Linked DNA regions of Homo sapiens: region 2 is linked to region 1. Evidence: promoter capture Hi-C in 16 types of primary human blood cells and fetal thymus (Javierre and others, 2016). All regions are on one chromosome and are shown on one strand. The core of a region is centred on a gene start or on the middle of the fragment in contact, and the rest is flanking DNA. Distances in the headings are between cores, read along the strand shown. Region 1 holds the start of DYNC1I1 (dynein cytoplasmic 1 intermediate chain 1). Region 2 holds the start of ASNS (asparagine synthetase (glutamine-hydrolyzing)).

Region 1 (4,518 bases), core at 853-3,352:
AGTTTATGCAGAATTTTTAGGGAAAGGGTAGTAACTTCTGGGTCATGGGGTCATTGCCATGGAAGGGAGTGGTAACTCCTGGGTTTTGCCACGGCAGTGGTAAATTGACATGGCACACTGGTGAGCATCTCTTATGGAAAGCTGCCTCCGCCCCATCCCTGTTTTAGCTAGTCTTCAATTTGGTCCAGTGTCTAAGTCCCAGCTCCTACTTCGTGGGCACTCAACAATGCCATGTTGAGGCCAGGCATGGTGGCTCACACCTGTAATCCCAGCACTTTGGGAGGCTGAGGCAGGCAGATCACTTGAGGTCAGGAGTTCGAGACCAGCCTGGCCAACATGGAGAAATGCCATCTCTACTAAAAATACAAAAATTAGCCGGGCTAGGTGGTGTGCACCTGTAATCTTAGCTACTCAGGAAGCTGAGGAAGGAGAATCGCTTGAACCCAGGAGATGGAGGTTTCAGTGAGCCGAGATTGTGCCACTGCATTCCAGCCTGGGCATCAGAGGGAGACTCTGTCTCAAAAAACAAACAAACAAACAAACAAAACAACAACAACAACAAAAGCAATGCCATGTTGGAAAGACCAAAATACAAAGTAGTTAAAGTACAAGCTGCAGATGAATGGGAATTCAAATCTCAGCTAGATCACTCAGTGGTTATGGAACTTGGGCAAGGGAGTTAACTTCTTTGACTCAAGTTCCTTTTCTGGAGGCATGGCATTCGTTATATGTACTACATAATGTTATAGAAAAGTTAAAGAAAAATGTATGTAGAATTGACATGTATTAAATATTCAGTCACGGTAGTGGCAAATATTTATTTCCTAGATTTTTCCTTCTGGAATACCTTGAATACCTTCTACCTAGACATTTAACCTCTTCATTTCTAGCCATAGTTACAATCGCAGTAGATTAGCCAGGGAGGCCAAAGTTTTAGAATAAGGATGGCCATTTACAGATGAGTATGTATTCATACTGTATTCATACTAGAATCTGTATTTATTTTGAAATTACTGTAGTACTTGTGAATTAATAAGTTCATAAATATTTACTGAGTACCCATTATATATCAGAATGCTGTTCTAGATACTAAGAATACAGCAGTGAACAAGATAGCGTCCCTGCCCTCCACTAATTTACATTCTAATGTGTAAAAATACACCACAGATGTGCAAGAAATATGATGAAAAGCTCATCTATAAAATGATACCAAACCCCCTAACATCCCAAACTCAATTTTTTGGCCTTATAACTTAGCTGTTGTGGCAAGCTTGTTTTTTGCAGAGTCCAATAATAGTTACCCAGATTTTTTTTTGTTTCCCCGAGACGGAGTTTCGCTCTTGTTGCCCAGGCTTTGAGTGCAGTGGCGGGATCTCGGTTCACCACAACCTCCGCCTCCCGGGTTCAACCATTCTCCTGCCTTAGCCTCCCGAGTAGCTGGGATTACTGGCATGCACCACCACGCCCGGCTAATTTTGTATTTTTAGTAGAGACGGGGTTTTTTCATGTTGGTCAGGCTGGTCCCCCAACTCTCGACCTCAGGTGATCCGCCCTCCTCGGCCTCCCAAAGTGCTTGGATTACAGGCGTGAGCCACCGCGTCTGGCCAGTTACCCAGATTTTTAAAAGCTGGGACTTTAAGAAGCAATGTGAAGACAAGCTACACACACACCACACCACACACACACACACACACACACACACACACACAGACACACACACTTAATTCTTTTTTCTTCTAGAAAAATTGGGATCAATCAGACCTATAAGTCATTGTGTACAACAGGTAGATCTGAGCTTTATTTCTATTTAAATGACCTTAAGAAGTGTAGTTGCCTGGGAGTGAAAGTTGTTCAATGGTGGCATTTCAGCAGGAGCTCCCAGAATATTGAAGCTCTTCTCTTTGCAGCAACTGAGGTCTAAGTCCTACCGACGTTAGAGGGATAGACGAATTGACCTTTCCAGGTCCTCTGCTCGCCACCAGCCTACGGAGCGGCGCCACCCCCTCCTGGCGAGACCGGGCGCGGAAGACGCGGAGCGGAGGCCCTCCCTCAGGAGGGGCGCGGGCGTGGAGGGCGTGGGCAGGGGGCGGGGCGAGCCCCGCAGACTGAGTGCTCCGGGGAGCTGTCAGTGTCAGGCTCTGGGAGAGAGGAAGTGATCGCTCCCGGAGGAGCGCGAGCCGAGCGGCCGGCGCAGCGTGAGACAGCACATCCTGCCCGCGCCGGCCCCGCCACCTTCGGGAGCCGCCTGCACCAACGCTGCCGCCGCCCAGGAGCCGCCGCCGGCTCGGGGAGCCCAGTTCCGCCGCTGCCGAGCGCGTCCAGGTAAACTGGAGCGGGATGTCGCCGCTCCCCGGACGGCCGCCTCCGCACCTCTCCCCAACCCTCCCCACCCCGGTGTCGTCTGCGCTGGGAACCAGGCTGGAGCCGAGGCCCCTGCAGCCGCAGCCGGACCCTTGTCCTGGCCCCCTGCCCAGGCTCCTGCGTGCTCCGCTGAGCCCGAAGGCGGCCAAAGCCCCCCAGTGACACCCCCCTCTCGGCAGAGCCGAGAGACTAGGGCAGAGAAGGAAGGGTCGTGGTGTCACCACCTGGTCGCCCACCTTGTGGGCTGGGAAGGGCGTCCCAGTGCGCCCCGCCTCGGTCTTCCCCGGGGGAGCAGTGGGCGAGCGGCGCTGAAATCTGCACCCCTCTGGGCCACCGGCTGACTGCCCCTGGAGGAGGGGGAAAGCTGCAGAGGGAGGGGAAAGGATGCTGTTTGATTACATTTCGAGCTGTCTGCAAAGCTCTTAGATGCTGTCACTACCCTGCAAGTCGGAGGGAGCGAATTCACTTCCAGCAGGGCATTAATTAAACACTTCAAAGCGAGAAGATGCCAGTTTCTCTCTGCTGCGAAAAAGTGTGGCTGGGGGATGTTGTTTTGGTAAACACCTTCACGGCCGCCTGGCTCTCCTTCCCCCGCTCCCATTCGGAATCGCTCTGGCCTTATAAATCCGTGCGTCGTCATCATAAGGGCAGTGATCCTGGCAGCGCTGATGGGAACTGAGTGTGCGGGAGTCTCATGACTTGTACCTTGGCTAATAAGATTAAACAGAAGCCCAGGATCAGGACAGGAAATTACATAGGAGATCAGAGACTCAACAACATGCAGAAGATGGAATATATTCGCTATTCTGGCCTCTACTAATCCTAGGTAAGGGGCAGGAACAAGTAGCCAGCCATTTTCTTGCTTGGAATGCCTTTCAAGTGGGCATTGTAGACTTATTGTAGTTCAGAGTTGTGAAGAATTGCTTCCAAATATTCCAGATTAGCAAAAAGTATAGCTAACAGTAAGGCATAGGCAACTGCAGGTGACAACCCAACGCCTGATGTTAACACAGACATGGGTAACCAGTCTGTGTACATACTTTAATTGTGGAAATTATAGAGATATACGTTGATCAGTGTTAGTAAATTTGAAAAGGGAATATTCAGTGCAATTTGCAAGCTGAGGGTACTGGTGAGAATGTAATACTACCTCTAATTATTTAAAATGCCAAGTTTGTTCAAAAAGGTTTGGTGTGGAAAAAGGGGTCCTAACTCAGCTCTTTTGATCATATTTCTCAATAAAATAAAATCTGAAACACCTGCCACTGAGTTACCACATGTTCTCTTCATAAGAACTAACTCTCGAATATTTGTTTAGGTCTGAGGATCCAGTGCTCCAAGACCCATTCCTCTTAAAACCTCTAGCACCATCCTTGGGAAGTTTTTAGAATACAGTTGGGGGTCGAATGCAGGCTTTTCCAGCCTGTCAAGCTCTTAGCCCTGTTTCTGGCCCACAGCATCTCAGCATTTTACTTTGTCTTCCTTGTCTCAGGCCTCAGATACAAATGCACTTGCTTCCTCCTTCTTTGGACCTCTGAGATGCTGCAGCCGCTGGTGCACAGTCCCCTGGAGGAGGAGGGGCTGGCTTGCAGTCCTTCCCCACCCCCAGCCTTTCCTCCCTCTTTGCTATTGAAAACATGCATGATTGTTTTACTGTTAAAGCTTTAGGTAAATCACCAGTAGGGATATGAGCAGAGAAAATAAACTCGACCCGCAGGAAAAGGGGCAGAGTTCTTAAAGTAGTGGTCCATGGTCTTCAGTTTCTGACTAACTTCGAAGAGAGTAAGAAGTCACTTGGCATTTCAGTCACCATGTTTTATATCTCAGAGAAGGCTCTAGGGTCTTTCTTCCCAATCCCTCTGCTTCCAAAAATACTCCTTCCCGAGTCTACGTTTAATAAATGAGCCTTGCCTTTGATGACAGTGCTGAGTCAAGGATCCAGCCTGGGTGCTGCTCTGTCCATAAAAACAGCGATGTAGACCAGTCTTGTAAAATGCATGCCAAATCTGAAATCTAGGTACCCCTCTTAGTACAGACAGTGTGCACCGGCTTCATCCTGTTACCGTTTTCTCCAGTTTCTTTGTTGTTTAACGTAGCATCAAATGAAAAGGTCACATGCATCTGTTTCAAAATCTGTTTCAAACAAATATATTCCTT
Region 2 (4,335 bases), core at 51-2,550, 2.1 Mb after region 1:
AAGGTGAAATTAATTTTAAATAAACTTAACTCAGTATGTCCCAAATAGTAACATTTTAACATATATGTAATCAATATAAAATATTATCGAGCAGATATTTTACACTGTTCTTCCTACTCCAACGACAAAATCCAGTGTATTTAACACAATACATCTCAGTTAGGACTAGCCAGCACTTCAAGTGCTCAACAGTTACAGGTGGCTAGCGCCTACCGAACTGGACATGGCAGTTTCAGTGCATTTAATTTCTATTCCACTTAGTGCTACTTACAACTTCACCCTCTCCCTTTACTTTTATATTAAGATCTCAGTAAGTAACCAACTACAGACAGGTTCAAGCCCTACTTTACCTCTAATTACTCTTACAGCAATGCTATGAATCATGATTTAAAATTTAAAAAAAAAAACTGCTGTTAAATTATTAGTCAAGCGCCCAGGGCAATGGACAGTAAAGAAATAATGTAGGCCACGGGCCGAGATGAAAACTGTCCTTTTTATTTAAAGCTATAACAATCATCTGAAGCCAGCCCTGCAAAATGACAGCCATTGAAAAAGGCATGCTAGTTCTTTTGCCTTTTTCTGTACTTGGTCGCCTGTGTCCCTAAACAGACCTCTTCTCGGCAGGGTTTGCTCAGCAAGTCACTTGATGAGTCTTGCAGTCTACAGAGACAGGTGGGGACTGGTGGGGATGGCGGGGTGAGAGGGGAGGAGGAGGGTGAGCGGTCCAGGTGAGGAGGGGGGCAGTTGAAGGTGAAAGCAGACACCGAGACGGTGATAAGGCCGCAGTCTCTTCCTAGATCAGGACCACGCGACACCTGACTGCGCCCTGGCCACGAGCACGATCCGACCCGTCCGCCGCAGGGACCCGGACCGCGAAAATGTCCACAGGCTTCGACGCCACATAGTAAAAAAAAGTACACATATAACATTTACAGGGGCTCAAACTGCCGCTGCCTCCTCTCCGGAGCGGTCCGGCCTGCCGGCCGCGGTTCCCTCTCGATGCTTCAGGGAACCAGGACAGAAAGGTCCTTCCGCTAGCTGTCAGGTGCGTAACAATCGCTAGGCGTCCGCCCCGCCCTCCCTACCGCAGGAGCCGCAGCATCAGCAGGCGCCCGCGAACCGCGTCTGCCGGGTGCCAGGCTGAAGACCGCATCCTCCACCCCTTCCTTCCGGAGCAGCCCCAGGGCACGCGAGGAGGATGCTGGCGCGGGGCGCAGGGCACGGGGCGCAGGACCCGGCTCACCTGGGCGTAAGCAGGTCAGGGTGATGTGGCGGGCTGAGGCCAGGGATGTGGACAGCTTGACGGGCGGCGAGGCCGCTGGCGCTTATACCGACCTGGCTCCTGTAACGCGTGCGGGAAGTTTCATCATGCCTGCGAGGACCAACCAGCGCGCACAGGGGCGGGGCCGCGGGGTGTCCGGGGCGGAGCAGGACTAAGTGGGGCGGCGGAAGGGCGCAAGGAGGAGCTCTTTTGTTTCCAGCGCCTTGCGTCTCAGTGCGCCTGTTTAAGGATAGCCTCAGAGCTCCGCCCAGGCTACCTGCTGTTCTGACAATTAGGGAGGCTTCTGAACTTGGTTTGTTCTTCGGGAAATCATCACCGTTTTTTTGTTGCACTGCCGTCTGATTTATTATGCAGTGCAGAGAAAAGCTTGTCCTAAGAAACTGATGCGTGAGGCCTAAAATGTCCTTATAAGATCTATTAATAAATCGGGGCCAGGAGCGGTGGCTCACGCCTGTAATCCCAACACTTTGGGAAGCCAAGGCAAGAGGATCACTTGAAACCAGGAGTTCAAGACCAGCCTGGGAAACACAGCGAGATCACATCTCTATAAAAATTGGTGGCACACCATGGTAGTCCCAGCAACTCAGGAGGCTGAGGCAGAAGGATAGTTTGAGCCCAGGCGTTTGAGGCTGAGGTGAGCTCAACTCCAGCCTGGGCGACAAAGGGAGACCCCCATCTCTAAAACAATAAAATCTAAATCTAATTGATACATGAAGCCAAAATACATCAGTGGTCCTTAAACATTTTAAGTACAAAGATTCCTTTTAGAATCTCAAAAAGGATTTTGTCAACTTGCCTCCACAAGATGATTATGTGCTTTTAAGTATCTCTTTGATGAAGAAAAGACATCACGATTTTTAAAAAGTATCATAACACTCTTAAATCGTATTTTACTAATTACATCAGCACCGAAATAAATTGAGAAATAGTAAAATTATATGTGCACGACCTACTAAGATCAGACTACAGTCAATGCTTGGAGAGCATGCAGGTTTGATATCCCCATACAACGCATTCCTGACTAAATCAAAAACGTCAACAATTTAAAATCCCTAAGAACAGAAGATGGAGTAGTCGCTTAGTAGTTACAGGCAAGAGCAAAGATGAGAGATGACTTGTTCTAAGGTTCATTGTTGCTGGAAAGTTTTCAGTATCAAACAGACTTTGCTGTATCCTAATTGACGTACTTTAAACCTGAGAGCAATGTGGGAAAGTAGGTCTTCTATCTACATTTTACAAATGAAAAAATAAGACTCAGAAAAGTTGAGGGATTTATCCAAACACAGCTTCACAACAGTAGAGAACTGAGTCATAATCTGTGTAAACCCAGAGCCCATTTCCCGTAGCATCTTGCCTATGTAGTGAAAGACAGGTTCCCCTGCTTGGTGTGTTACCTAGTGTGCTTCCTTGTGCTGCGTATCTCCTGCTTGTCCGTCCAGAGCTCTACACTTCTCCACCTCACTTTCTATCCTGGCTCCCTTGCCCTCCTCTTTCAGGGAGAGTGTGCAAAGGCAGACATTTCAAGGAGATGCAAAAGGTGAAATTAAAATTGCTAATGAAGTTTTGGCACCATTGTCATTGATAACATCTTATCAGGAGACAGGGTTTTGAGATCAACCGGTCTGACCAAAGTTTATTAGGTGGGAATTTTCTCTTCCTAATAAGCCTGGGAGTGCTATGGGAGACTGGAGTTTATTTCACCTCTGCAGTCTCGACCATAAGAGACAGGTACGCCCCGGGGGGCCAGTTTAGAGACCTACCCCTAGGTGCGCATTCTCTTTCTCAGGGACGTTCCATGCTGAGAAAAGGAATTCAGCGATATTTCTCCCATTTGCTTTTGAAAGAAGAGAAATATGGTTCTGTTCTGCCTGGCTCACCGGCGGTCAGAGTTTAAGGTTATCTCTCTTATTCCCTGAACAATTGCTGTTATCCTGTTCTTTTTTCAGGGTGCCCACATTTCATATTGCTCAAACACACATGCTGTATAATTTGTGTACTTAACGCAATTATTACAGGTCCTGAGACGATATACATCCTTCTCGGCTGACAGGATTAAGAGATTAAAGTAATGACAGGCATAGGAAATCACAAGGGTATTGATTAGGGAAGTGATAAGTTTAGTCCATGAAATCTTTACAATTTATGTTTAGAGATTGCAGTGAAGGCAGGCATAAGAAATTACAAAAGTATTAATTTGGGGAACTAATAAATGTCCATAAAATCTTCATAATCCACGTTCTTCTGTCATGGCTTCAGCTGGTCCCTCCGTTTGGGGTCCCTGACTTCCCGCAACACAGCACAGTGCCTGGCACAAAAGAGTTGCTCAATAAATACATCAGGATGAATAGATAAATACACGGATAGGCACTTTGAACTACAGATGAGCTTAAATACTTTGTGTTTTTCTTAGTCAAACATGTGCAATTAAGCATGTGATAAATGTTATGATGACCACACGTGTGTCTTGCCTGATGTTCTTTGCAATCACTAAATGAAGTCAATTGTGCCTGTTTTGACAGTTCTATTTTCAACCTAATGATCTGTTTATTTTAACTTCTGGCTGTTGGCTTTGTTTGGGTTTGTTAGCCTGACGAAGTGGTAGATATTGGTATTTGCTCTTTTGTTTAAATGTCACGAACTTTAAAAATGCCTTTGCTTTTGGGAAGAAACCCTAGTTAGGACACCCTAGCGGTCAGGATGATTTGGGTTCTGGTGCAGTAACGACAATCCCCAAATCTCAGTGGCTCCATGCAGTGAGGTATTTGTTTGTTTTTGAGACAGGGTCTCACTCTGTCACCCAGACTAGAGTGCAGTGGTGCAATCTCAGCTCACTGCAACCTCTGCCTCCCAGACTCAAGTGATTCTCCTGCCTCCTGAGTAGCTGGGATTACAGGCCCATGCCACCACTGTCTGGCTAATTTTTGTACTTAGTAGAGACAGGATTTCACCATGTTAGCCAGGCTGGTCTTGAACTCCTGACCTCAAATGATCCACCCGCCTTGGCCTCCCAAAGTTCTGGGATGACAGGCATGAGCCACCATGCCTGGCCACAG

What was found. Contacts are between HindIII fragments. The CHiCAGO score rates a contact against its expected background, and 5 or more counts as called.
Region 2: the fragment with the promoter of ASNS here is called in contact with the fragment with the promoter of DYNC1I1 in region 1 in 1 of 17 cell types (M0 macrophages); the score reaches 5.4 in M0 macrophages.

The regions. Positions count from the first base shown.
Region 1 is chr7:95,770,452-95,774,969 of GRCh38, forward strand. DYNC1I1 (dynein cytoplasmic 1 intermediate chain 1) reads left to right here and starts at 2,103. Exons shown (of 17, transcript NM_001135556.2): 1 at 2,103-2,322. The HindIII fragment of the contact is 2,753 bases long and covers 1,269-4,021 here.
Region 2 is chr7:97,871,108-97,875,442 of GRCh38, forward strand. ASNS (asparagine synthetase (glutamine-hydrolyzing)) reads right to left here and starts at 1,301. Exons shown (of 13, transcript NM_001673.5): 1 at 1,244-1,301. The region is part of intron 7 of CZ1P-ASNS (CZ1P-ASNS readthrough); the gene reads right to left. RefSeq lists silencers at 1,023-1,132, 1,443-1,532 and an enhancer at 1,182-1,897. The HindIII fragment of the contact is 3,580 bases long and covers 1-1,646 here.